Linked DNA regions of Homo sapiens: regions 1, 3 and 4 are each linked to region 2. The links are contacts of gene promoters, found by promoter capture Hi-C in blood cells and fetal thymus (Javierre and others, 2016). All regions are on one chromosome and are shown on one strand. Each heading gives the region's core, a stretch centred on a gene start or on the middle of the fragment in contact. The rest is flanking DNA. Distances are from core to core; before and after follow the strand shown.

Region 1 (2,700 bases), core at 99-2,598, 490 kb after region 2:
TAAGATTTTGAACGGTGTTCTCTAGGAATGAAAAGCTTAATGTTAATTGCTTTTTTTATGTATAACAATTCCTCCACACAAAATTTCTCCAGGAAATCTCAACTGTAATCTTTTTCTTTTTTTTTTTTTTTTGGTGACTTATTAGGATGTAGGTGGAGGATGGCTGGAAGGAAGAAACATCAAAGGAGAACGAGGGCTGGTTCCCACAGACTACGTTGAAGTAAGAGCTTCCTGTCATTCATTCATTAGAGCTCATCTTTGCCAGGCATCTTTTTATGAATTATCAACTTACAAGAAGTCAGCAACTTTTTGCAAAACAAAATTTCCATTGTAAATATAATAAATGTTAACTATATAAAATATGGAAACTACATTGAAATAGAACTAAGAAAAATATTACCTGTAGACCCAAGCTTCAAAGAATGACTACAGATATTTAGGTTAAGTTTCTTCCAGGGATAGCAACTTTTAATTGGTCTGAATAAAAGTTAGTATTTTTCCTTTGCTAATATTATCTATATTATAAATATATATTATAAATTGTATAAATTCAATAAGATATATGAAATTATATCTCAATATATCTGTTAATATATACATTTTAAATATATATTTATATTTTTATAAGCAAAATATATAAATTTTATAAAATGTATTATAAATTATATAAATTATAAATATAGATATATATTTATAATATGACACATATAACGTATTTTTCCTTTGCTGATATTGCTGCCATCTATAATATTGTTTATTGTACAATAGACTCACAGTTTAAATAGATTTTTTTAAGTGCATATCTCAGTTCCTTCTCCCATTCCCATAGACAGAGGGGTGTCTTGGGGGAGCTGCTGTGGGGATCTCCTGGGTAGAGCTGTTAGGATGGATACCCAGGAGAGCAACACAGCAGCCTGGGCTGGTCCTGCCTGGGACACCCCCAAGCTGAGCCAACCACCTGGCGCCCCCTGCTGGTTGTCTTTCGGTCCCTCCAAACCGAGCGAAGGTTCTTGGTAAGCTTGTCTTTCATGTTGGGTGACAGAAAGAAGCGAAGGTTTCCTGATGCCCTGTGAGTACAACTGGAGCTAGATCAAGAATAAAGGTACCTTTGGTTCACCTCCAGGAGAAAAGAATTCCCCCCAGAGGATGTTTACCTGGGACCTGTCTGCAGAGTGAGATCTAAGGCCGTCCTTCTGTTGTTGATAGACAGTGAGGGTGGGGAGTCATGACCCCTCAGAGAATCCGATGCAATCTCTAGGCTTTCCCTCAGAAACGTGTGCCCATGCACACACCACAGCCTTTTCCATACAACTGCAACCCCCTATTCACAGGCCCCTGGCCTCACTCCGTAGGTCTTATGTTGAAGTCTTGTTTTACTTGTATGCACTTTGCATCCAGGAGCCCACAAATTGACAAGATTGAGAAAAATCTGAGAATTTAAGTTGATATTGGCAGTAATTGGATTTTCTAGGATTCTGCTTATATAAAGGAATAGTGATTACAGATATTCTTGGGTTTGCTTACCTTTAAGAATATAAAACCCCCTCTATTAGAAATAGATCCTGCAGGCAGAAAATCAGTAAGGACGTGGTTGAACTCAGCACCATCAATAAATTGATGTCCACTTAGGGACATCTATAGACTGCTTCATCAAACCACAGCAGCATACACATTCTTTTCAAGCTTACATGGAACATTCTCTAAGACAGACCACATATTCTGAGCCATAAAACATACCTCAACATGTTTGAAAGAAATCATACAGTGTCTGCCCTGAGACCACAATGGAATCACACTAGAAATCAAAACAGAAAGATAGATGGAAAATCTGTAAATACTTAGAGATTGAACAATCCACTTCTAAATAATGCATGGATCAAAGAAGAAATCTCGAGAAATTAAAAAATAGTTTGAACTAAATAAAAATGAAAATACAACCCATTAAAATATGAGTATGCGGCAAAAGCAGTGCTTACAGAGAAATTTGTAGCATTGAAGAATATAAACCCTTTTTGACAATTCTTGCTTGCCCTCGAAGACTCCCTGAAGTGACCGTAATCTATGAAAATAATTGCGGCTCTTTCTCCTATTCAGATTTTACCCAGTGATGGAAAAGATCAATTTTCTTGTGGAAATTCAGTGGCTGACCAAGCCTTCCTTGATTCTCTCTCAGCCAGCACAGCTCAGGCCAGTTCGTCGGCTGCCAGCAACAATCACCAGGTACGTCTCACTTCCTCCTTCTGGATGTGGCTGGCTTTACGGAAAACAGAGCGTATTTGTGAAGGCTTGTGATGCATTATAGCTATTGCCATTCCCCAAAAGCAAAAACAAAGTCGCTTTTAGGTTGTTCTGTGGCATTTCTGTTGGGTACTAACAAAGAAATCACCTGTTAAGCCTGATAATGACTGTTTGCAAAATTTATTATAAGAGAAAAGGCAGGGTATTGAGGGTTGCTTTTAGAAGTCTGTCATGATATGAACACAGACCCCAGAAACTGCAAATACCCTCTTAGATAAAGGCATGGAAAGAAGAGGAAGAAGAGGAGGCTCTTGTTGTTGAGGAGGTCAGTGTCAGAGCCTCGGCCTGGATCAGGAAATAGATGCCCTGGCCCTGGCATGTTGCTTACACTCTCAGAGCTAGAGGCCCTCATCCTGCGAGTAGAAGCAGTGCCTGTGAAAGTCTACCAGATCCAGGCACTCA
Region 2 (2,700 bases), core at 36-2,535:
CTCACCGGGTTCCGGCGAAGATTAGACAAAGAACATGTGTAACGTGCAAACTGCCCAGTACAGAGAAGGCACCGTTCCCCACAACCCCCTTTGTTGGTTCCCATCTCCCACCACCTAGCCCCAGAACGCCCAGCACCACGCCTCTCCTGCCCTTGTCGCGGGGGATGCAGGGACTTGTAGTTTCTAAGGCCCCGAGTCGTGCTTCTCCTCGGCGCAGGCCTGCGGGCGGAAGAACTACACATCCCAGTGGGCTGTGAAAGGAAAGTGGGGCTCGGGAAATTGAGCATCCCTGCCCAGCTGCCTTCGTTTTCTGCGGCCCCGGGGCTATGCCCACCTCTGCGGGGGCTCGGACCCGCGGCAACGCCTGGGAGGGCGCGAGCGAGCAGAAGCCCCAGGCTCCGGCCGTCCCAGGGCCGCGCCCGCAGCTCCTCCTGGGCTGTCGGGTGGGAAGGGGGGAGGCGCAGGCGGGAGAGGAGAAGCACGCGACCCCTCCGCTGCCGAGGGGGCTCCACGGGGGAATGGAGGGAGAAATAAAGCGAGCAGCTGTAAACGTCCGTGGGGAGAAGTGGAGACCGAAAGAGCTGGGCGGCAGCAACCCAAAACCTGGCCTCCAAGGGCTTATACTCCGGGAGGGAGGCCGGGGCCGGAGGGGACCCTGACCGCTTCCTCTGCCCTTCTTTCTCGGCCCGGAAGCCGGCCGAGCCGGGCCCCGAGACCCTCGCCCGCAGCCCGGTCCCGAAGTCAGGCCGGCCTAGGGCCGCCCCACCCCATCCTGGCACCCGGCACCCCCAGCCCATTTCTCGGGCATCACCAGAGTCCCCGGGCGACGCGACCACGCGCCCAGCTGGGGAGGAGGAAGAAGGGAGGCGCAGGCCGGGGAGGGTCACCTCCGCGCCGCGGCTCCTCAGGTCCCGGGGAGTCGCCAGGAGTGGCTTGCCGGTGGCCGTGGGAATGAGCGTGTCCCGAGGCGGCAGCTGCTGCGCGGGATAAACCCGGAAGAAGCCGCGAGACGGACTGAAGTCGGCCAGGAGCGCACTGCGCGGCGGGGCCGCGGGCGCCCGACCCCATCCCTACTTGGGCGATGCCACAGGGAGCCCCGCGCCTTCCACACCCCAGGGCGCCCGCCCGAGGGGGCTGGGGCTGGAATCTCGCTGCGCCGGTGCCCTGGCTTCGCGGGCGAGGAGGAGGAGGAGCAGGAGGAGGAGCCGCGGGTGAGGCGCGAGGCCACCGCCCACCCGGCCCGGAGGAGGCGGACCCACTCGGAGCGCCGCGCGCGCGCCGGGCTGAGCCTTGCAAACAAGTGTCTGTGCTGTGTCCCCGCGGCCCTCCTCGCGCCGGGGCCGCTTCCTCCGGGTAGGAGGGAGCAAGGGAGCCCTCGCCGCGCGGCCCGCGAGCCGCCGCCGCCCTCGGCCCGCGCATCCCCGCGCGGGGGCCGCGGATTCGACTAGGCTGCCAGGCGCAGCGACACCGGGTCGCGGTGCGAGCGGCGCCCCGGCTCTCGCCGAGAGGCTCCTGACAGAAAAACGTGCGTGGTTGTCCCCACCCCTGGGAGGGGTTGCCGGTGCCGCGCGCGGCCGCCCAGTCGCCAGCGCTCTCTCCTGGGAGGATCCGCTGCCGGAGGAAGGAGTGGACCCAACCTGGCCGCGCCGCAGAAGTGGCTCCCGAGGAAGCCGGCGCCGGGGCCGCCGCCTCGTGTCCCCTCGGGGCGCAGTGCTCGGGGGTCGGCGGGCCAGAGCCGAGGCGCGGCCGGGGAGCCGGGGGCTGCGGGGCCGAGCGGGCAGCCGCGCGAGGGGGCGGGCGCTCGGCGACCCGGGGGCCGGCCGGGCTGAGCCCCGCGCCCCGGGACGCGGGCTGGAAGCGACGGAGGAGTGCTGCCGCGGGCTGCGGACCAGCGCCGTCCCCTCACGGAGCGGGGATTCTGCTATGACAGTTGGGCTCCCCGGAGGGTTAACCTGGGTGTCCTCGGCAAAGTTGTCGCCGAGCCGGGAGCCCGTGTAGGGGCCGCGGCGCCGCGGCTCGGGGGGCGGCCGGGCGGCCGGCGGCGGTCGTGGCTCGGCGGGGCCCGCGCGGCCGGGGGGCTCCTGGGGGTGTGCGCCCCCAGCCGGCTGCCCTCGTGGATGCCTCCCGGCGGCGGCGGGCCCATGAAAGACTGCGAGTACAGCCAGATCAGCACCCACAGCTCCTCCCCCATGGAGTCGCCCCACAAGAAGAAGAAAATCGCGGCCCGGAGGAAATGGGAGGTGTTCCCGGGAAGAAACAAGTTCTTCTGTAACGGGAGGATCATGATGGCCCGGCAGACGGGCGTCTTCTACCTGACGCTCGTCCTCATCCTGGTCACTAGCGGACTCTTCTTCGCCTTCGAGTAAGTGGTGGCGACCGCTCCCCCGACGCCGCACTCCCCTGGTCTCCCCTGTCCCCCGCCCCTCCTCGGGCTGCTTTCGTTTTCTAGAAGTCTTATCTACTGTAAATTGTTATATAATGCCAGTCTGCGCTCCCTCTTTTTTCTTTTAAAGGTCTGATTGCTTTTGGGCCCCCGGAAAGAACGCCGTTCTGGGCTGGGCTTCTGGGAGCAGGGAGGGAAGGGGTCCACTTGCAAGGGGGGCCAGGCCTTGCCAATCCAGGTGGCGGATGGGACCCAGCAGGTGGGGCCGCCGGTCCCTGATCCTTGGGGCGCTCTCTACCGAGTTTGGGGACCCAGCA
Region 3 (2,700 bases), core at 164-2,663, 380 kb after region 2:
TGTATTCAAGATGGAGTTGCTCTGGTTCGCATGCCTCTGACACCGGGAGAAATTCTCCCTCTCAGCCATCTCTTTCCTAGTGGCCTCTCTCAGCATCATATGTTAGTCACTCCTCCCTTCCTGGTAGGGAAGAGAATGCCTCCGGGTTAGAAAAACACCAGCTGAGAGTTTATAGACATTTCTCTTTGAACATGTGGAACAACAAAGACTACTGATAGACTGTTGGGCATAATTTTAGAATTTGCCTTATTTTGTCAAAGATTAAAGAAAGAAAAGGCCACTTTCCCACTATTCGATTTAACTCAGTCGGATTATACGGTGACAATGTCACTCACTGATTTAAGCTTGAATGTGAGAGATTTAAAAGCAATGGCTTGAAAGGAGTTGTTTTGCATCTTAAAAGAAACCACGACTTCAGAGTGATTTTGATTTTCCATTCCTACAAAGGAAGAAACGAAGCTAAATGCTTTTAATCCTAAAAGTGCCCTTTCAGAATTTCTGGGATCACGGTTGCAAGGCAGAAGTGGAGAACTACCCATTGGATGCCTCTCCAGGAGTCACATCTGTCTCCTCAGACTTTGATCTTCTCAGACATTGCTGGAGAGGCAGGGACAGAAAGTTCAGATGCTACGGAAAGACAGTGTGGGTCAGACCACACAGTGTTCCTTTGAAACTCCTGGCTTACTGGCTTTCCCCCACCCACCCATCAAGTGTGTCCTTTGAGGTGAGACATAACATCAGCTGACTAACAAGATGTTTGCCAGTAATCACATCTGATGACAGTAAATGTCAGTCTCCCAACACAATTTCTATTTTATTTCATTAATACCATCCTCAGTGGTTTGCTTGAAAGGGTTAAATTAGCTAGGCATGGTGGCTCATGCCTGTAATCCCTACACTTTGGGAGGCTGAGGTAAGCAGATCACTTGAGGTCAGGAGTTCAAGACCAGCCTGGGCAACATGGTGAAACCCTGTCTCTACAAAAAATACAAAAATTGGCTGGGCGTGGTGGCAAGTGCCTGTAGACCCAAGTACTTGGGGGGCTGAGGCAGGAGGATTGCTTGAACCCAGGAGGTGGAGGTTGCAGTGAGCTGTGATTGTTCCTCTGCACTCTGCACTCTAGCTGGGCAACAGAGTGAGACTCTGTCTAAAAAAAAAAAAAGAGTTAAATTGGAAAATGTATGTCTTGGTGCTCTGTAAATTGCGAAGCTCTACATAAGTATGATTCCCTGTCTTTATAAATTTGCAATCTGGTGTGCCATGTCTGGGGACAATAACTCCTTCATTGCTCCAGGCACAGAGTTCTGGATTGAGGTCCTGGCTTCTGCTTCTCCAAGATTATCCAAATTTCTTGCTCCTTGAAGGTGGACTTTGAGGACCAGCATCACTTGTGTACCCCATAGCTTCTAATGCAGCAAGCAGGGAATAGACACTCCAGCAAGCAAGTGAATAAGCAAAGAAAACCAGGCCCCCGAGACGCAGGCGGATCCCCAGGCGGATCCCCAGAGGCAACAGAGTCAAATATGCGGGAAAGAATCTGATTCCGGCCAGCAGAGGGCAGGAGCGAGAGGAAACTGGGCATCTCAGCAACAAAGCAGGCTGTGCCAACCTGCGGCCGAGGGCCAGATCGCAAGCCCCGGTGCAGAGAGGACGCCGGGAGAATCCAGCTAATTCTGACAGCCTTTCCCTTGGACTTTAGCTGTAATGTGTGTGTGTTCCATTATCTCACACATCACTGCACTGAATTCCACTTCAACTTCCACCCCCTCCCCCCACCAGGAGCTGGCAGTTAAGATATTTACCAAGATGGTGCTGCCTCTCTAGTAAAACTCAGGAGGATTAAAATAATAATAAACAAACCGAGAGAGGGAGTCCAGAAAAGTGGACTAGGAAGCACAACACAGAAGCAGCTTCAGCACTGGAAAATATTCAGTCGTAAGAATCACCATGCATTCCCTCAGTGCTTGGCAGCCACTTTCTCACTTGAGCCCCATACTCTTTGTATGAGGTATGGGGTGGCTACTTGTGGAGTGCTGTGTCTAAGTCACCCTGCATGGGAGAGGCAGCACCAGGATTCTAACTCAGGATCCTGGGGCCTTATCCACGGCACTCTGTTACCGGGGACACGCTCATTCACTCAACAAACCTTCACGGACTGCCCATCAGTTCTTGTGCCAGGTATACAGAAGGGAAGGACACGGTCCTGTCCTCCAAGAGCTCATCCTCCAAAAGAGCATGGATACTAATAAACAGTCACAGTTTGGTATGACATGGCCATGACAGAGAAGAGTCACCCAACGCAAACTGGGAGGGCCAGTGAACATTTCCAGGAGGAAGTGACAGAAGTTGCCCTGCTGATGACCTCAGTGGCACCATTCATTTTATCACTATGTACCAGAAAATTGTCATAATCTACAGTGACCTCAGATGTGCACAGGGCACCCTCCACCTCTTTGCAATGCCCCTTGCACAGCCATACTGGGAAGCTTGCAGCTGAACCAAGCTTTGAAGGATGACTAGGAGCAGGCAATCAAAGAAAGGAATAGGGGCTAGGGCTGGCGTCGGGTGGAGGGATTCTGGGTGAAGGGGTTGGCACCAGCATAGGGGGTAGGCCTGAGAAATGTCCCCACAGCTGGAGCGTAGGTCTCAGGAGGAATGGTAACAAGAAGACTAAGAAGCAGATGGGGAGGCCAGGAGTTT
Region 4 (2,734 bases), core at 1-2,500, 280 kb after region 2:
TCTGTGGGCTTGAGCACTGTGTCAGGAAGCTTGAAGATACCAAAAAAAAAAAACAAAAAAAAAAAAAACAAGACTCCTTGCCCTCCTGTTCTCTGCTGTGACTGAGGATGAGACAGTCTGAACACCCCAGGAAAGAGCTGCATGCGACATCACCATGCCACTGAGCACCAGGCAGATCAGGAGGAGCTCTGGACCTGGAAGCAGAGCCTCTTCACTGCTGGCCTCAGGCTGATGGCATACAGAATCATGGTGGGATTGAGTAAGGACCTGCGGCCCTGGTCACCTGCCCAGGGTGACAGTGCACTCTCTGCCATGCATACCTGAGTGTAGGTGGCTTCACATCTCCTGTAGCATCTTCTTGCCATCCGTACACACAAAGGGTATTTGTATTTTTTTTTTTTAAGACAGGGTCTCACTCTGTCGCCCAGGCTGAAGTGCAGTGGTGAAATCTCAGCTCACTGCAACCTTCACCTCCTGGTCTCAAGGTGATCCTCCTACCTCAGCCTCCTGAGTAGCTGGGACCACAGGCATGTGCCACCATGCCCAGCTAATTTTTGCATTTTTTGTAGAGACAGTTTTGCCATGTTGCCCAGGCTGGTCTCGAACTCCTGACCTCAAGCGATCCACCTGCCTCAGCCTCCCAAAGTGTTGAGATTACAAGTGTAAGCCACTGCACACGGCCATTCATTCCTTTACTCAGGCATGCACAGATCTTTCCAGAGAGCTTCCAGGGGAAGGCTTGAAAGCACTGTTGGGTATAAAGAAGTGAACAAGGCTCACATGCACCTGGGAGCTGTTCGGTACAAAAACACTCCAGCGTCACAGCCCCAGCGAATCCATGCCCAGTGAGTCTAGGCTCAGGCACATGATATGTGCACGAAATCTCAGGATCAAGGTCTTGCTTTAAAGCCCATGGACCCCATGCTAAAGAAGCCCTCCATCAGTGAGTACCATGGTCTACCGCCTCCATACCAGAGACAAAACTGTAAGAAATCTCAACATCCTGGGAGTCATACGCGTATAAGCACTACTCCGGATTTGGTAATAGCACAGAATTGTATAGTCAAGTCCCCTAAGCAGGATGTTCCAGCCAGTGATAAAAGCTGTACAGAGACATCTGTTCCACATGCTAAATGCTTTCGAGTCAGCCAGCAGGCTTTAAGATGCCTTTTTATCCCCATCTGGAAGAGGAACATTGGAGATGGGGATTCACTGTGTGGAGACCAGACTGCTACCGCTTACTAGAAGCATGACCTTGATGAGTTGCTTAACCTCTCTCTGCCTCAGTGTTTTCATCTATAAAATGGGAACATTGATATTCTTACCTTGTAGGGTTTCTATGAGGATTAAGTTAAGACATGTCAAGCACTTAAAACCTTGCCTAGTAGAAGAAAAGTACTATTTAAGTGTCGGCTATTATTATTATCCCCCTGAGACCCATGAGTGGCAAGATGAGCGAGCTCAACTGTACCCTCTTGGAGCAACCGGAAAATAATAGAGATGACTGGCATGAGGGAAAGAGCCCAGAATGGGAACCAGGGAATGAGAGCTCCCATTCTGGCTCCTGCCAGTTAGTTCCCTGATGATTGGCAGGTCACTCTTGCCTCACTGGTCCTCAGTTTTCCTCATCTGCAAAATAGGAGGTGGGATTAATTTGTACCTAAAGCCCCCTTTTAGCTGTGAGCCTTTTGTGAGTCTCTGATCCTTGCAGCTCCACCAGGAGATTAGGAGGGCAGAGACAACATCTCAGTCCACACATGCCAGAAAGAGCTCTCCAAACCCCAGAAGAAGGTAAACACCGTGACTCTCAGCTCCTCCTCTCCTCCCACCCACCCTGACCAACAGCCCCCAAACTGACTAAGCCCGCACTTGACACAGGATTGGGGGTGTGCTGTGGGGCTATGCGCAGTCTGGCCGTCATACCAGAACTTTCTTGAGAGTAGGAGTGTGTGTTGCTTTTCTTATTTGTCTCCTATTTCTTGAATTTATGGGATAAATCCTACTTGGCCATGGTATATAATCCTTTTTATATGTTGCTAAATTCAGTTTGCTAGTATTTTGTTAAGGATCGTTCTGTCTGTATTCATAAGGGAATTGTCTGTAGTTTTATTTTCTCGTGAAGTCTTTGTCTGGTGTTGGTATCGGGGTAATACCGGCTTCATGGAAGGAGTTGAGAAGTGCTTCTTACTCTTCTGTCTCGAAAAGTTTGTGAAGAACTGCTGTTAATTCATCTTTAAAGATTTGGGACAATTTGCCAGGAAAGCCATTTAGTCTTGAACTTTCTCCATGGGTATTGTTTTGATTACTAATTCACTCTACTTATTATAGGTCTATTCAGATTTTTTACTTTTCCCTTGGGTCAGTCTCAGTGGTATGTGTCTTTCTAGGAATTTATCCATTTCATCTAAGTTATCTAATTTGTTACCGTTTTCTCATCTGTCAATATTGTTTTATTATGAAAATAGATGAGGGAAGCTTAAGGACTGAAAAAGTTAAATTGAAAATGAGAATAATTTGTAAAACTGGAGGGGAAGAGAAGAAGCAGTCAAAGACTTCAGTGAAAGTCAAGAGGCACTTGAAGTAAGCCCTGAAGGGGAGAAATTGGTATTTTGTATTTTTTAAACATTCTGTGAAATGCACATGCCAGCCGAGAGACCTGGGAACCTCTAGCAGAGCGAGTTCCAGCGTGGTCTCCGGGCCCCGCACTGTTGCTTTGCTTTCTCCCGCTTTGCGT

What was found. The method cuts DNA at HindIII sites, captures the fragments that hold promoters and counts their contacts. A CHiCAGO score of 5 or more calls a contact.
Region 1: a fragment that was not itself captured here is called in contact with the fragment with the promoter of ZDHHC14 in region 2 in 2 of 17 cell types (naive CD4 T cells and total B cells); the score reaches 5.9 in naive CD4 T cells.
Region 3: a contact is called between a fragment that was not itself captured here and the fragment with the promoter of ZDHHC14 in region 2, in 2 of 17 cell types (naive B cells and activated CD4 T cells). The highest score is 5.4, in naive B cells.
Region 4: a fragment that was not itself captured here is called in contact with the fragment with the promoter of ZDHHC14 in region 2 in 3 of 17 cell types (endothelial precursors, naive B cells and total B cells); the score reaches 7.6 in endothelial precursors.

The regions. Positions count from the first base shown.
Region 1 is chr6:157,872,957-157,875,656 of GRCh38, forward strand. It overlaps SNX9 (sorting nexin 9), which reads left to right. Exons shown (of 18, transcript NM_016224.5): 3 at 146-220; 4 at 2,095-2,220. Among named protein-coding and RNA genes, the nearest start is that of SNX9-AS1, 19 kb to the right of the region's middle. RefSeq lists a silencer at 855-924. The HindIII fragment of the contact is 665 bases long and covers 1,017-1,681 here.
Region 2 is chr6:157,379,905-157,382,604 of GRCh38, forward strand. It overlaps ZDHHC14 (zDHHC palmitoyltransferase 14), which reads left to right and starts at 1,286. Exons shown (of 9, transcript NM_024630.3): 1 at 1,286-2,362. The coding sequence starts at 2,118. LOC124901446 reads right to left here and starts at 1,187. Exons shown (of 1, transcript XM_047419644.1): 1 at 1-1,187. The coding sequence starts at 797. RefSeq lists enhancers at 1-222, 834-1,445, 2,204-2,343 and silencers at 424-503, 664-1,553, 2,064-2,113. The HindIII fragment of the contact is 8,143 bases long and covers 1-2,700 here.
Region 3 is chr6:157,755,269-157,757,968 of GRCh38, forward strand. No RefSeq gene overlaps it. Among named protein-coding and RNA genes, the nearest start is that of SNX9, 67 kb to the right of the region's middle. RefSeq lists a silencer at 49-343. The HindIII fragment of the contact is 2,142 bases long and covers 343-2,484 here.
Region 4 is chr6:157,656,666-157,659,399 of GRCh38, forward strand. The region is part of intron 8 of ZDHHC14 (zDHHC palmitoyltransferase 14); the gene reads left to right. Among named protein-coding and RNA genes, the nearest start is that of MIR3692, 130 kb to the left of the region's middle. The HindIII fragment of the contact is 2,446 bases long and covers 28-2,473 here.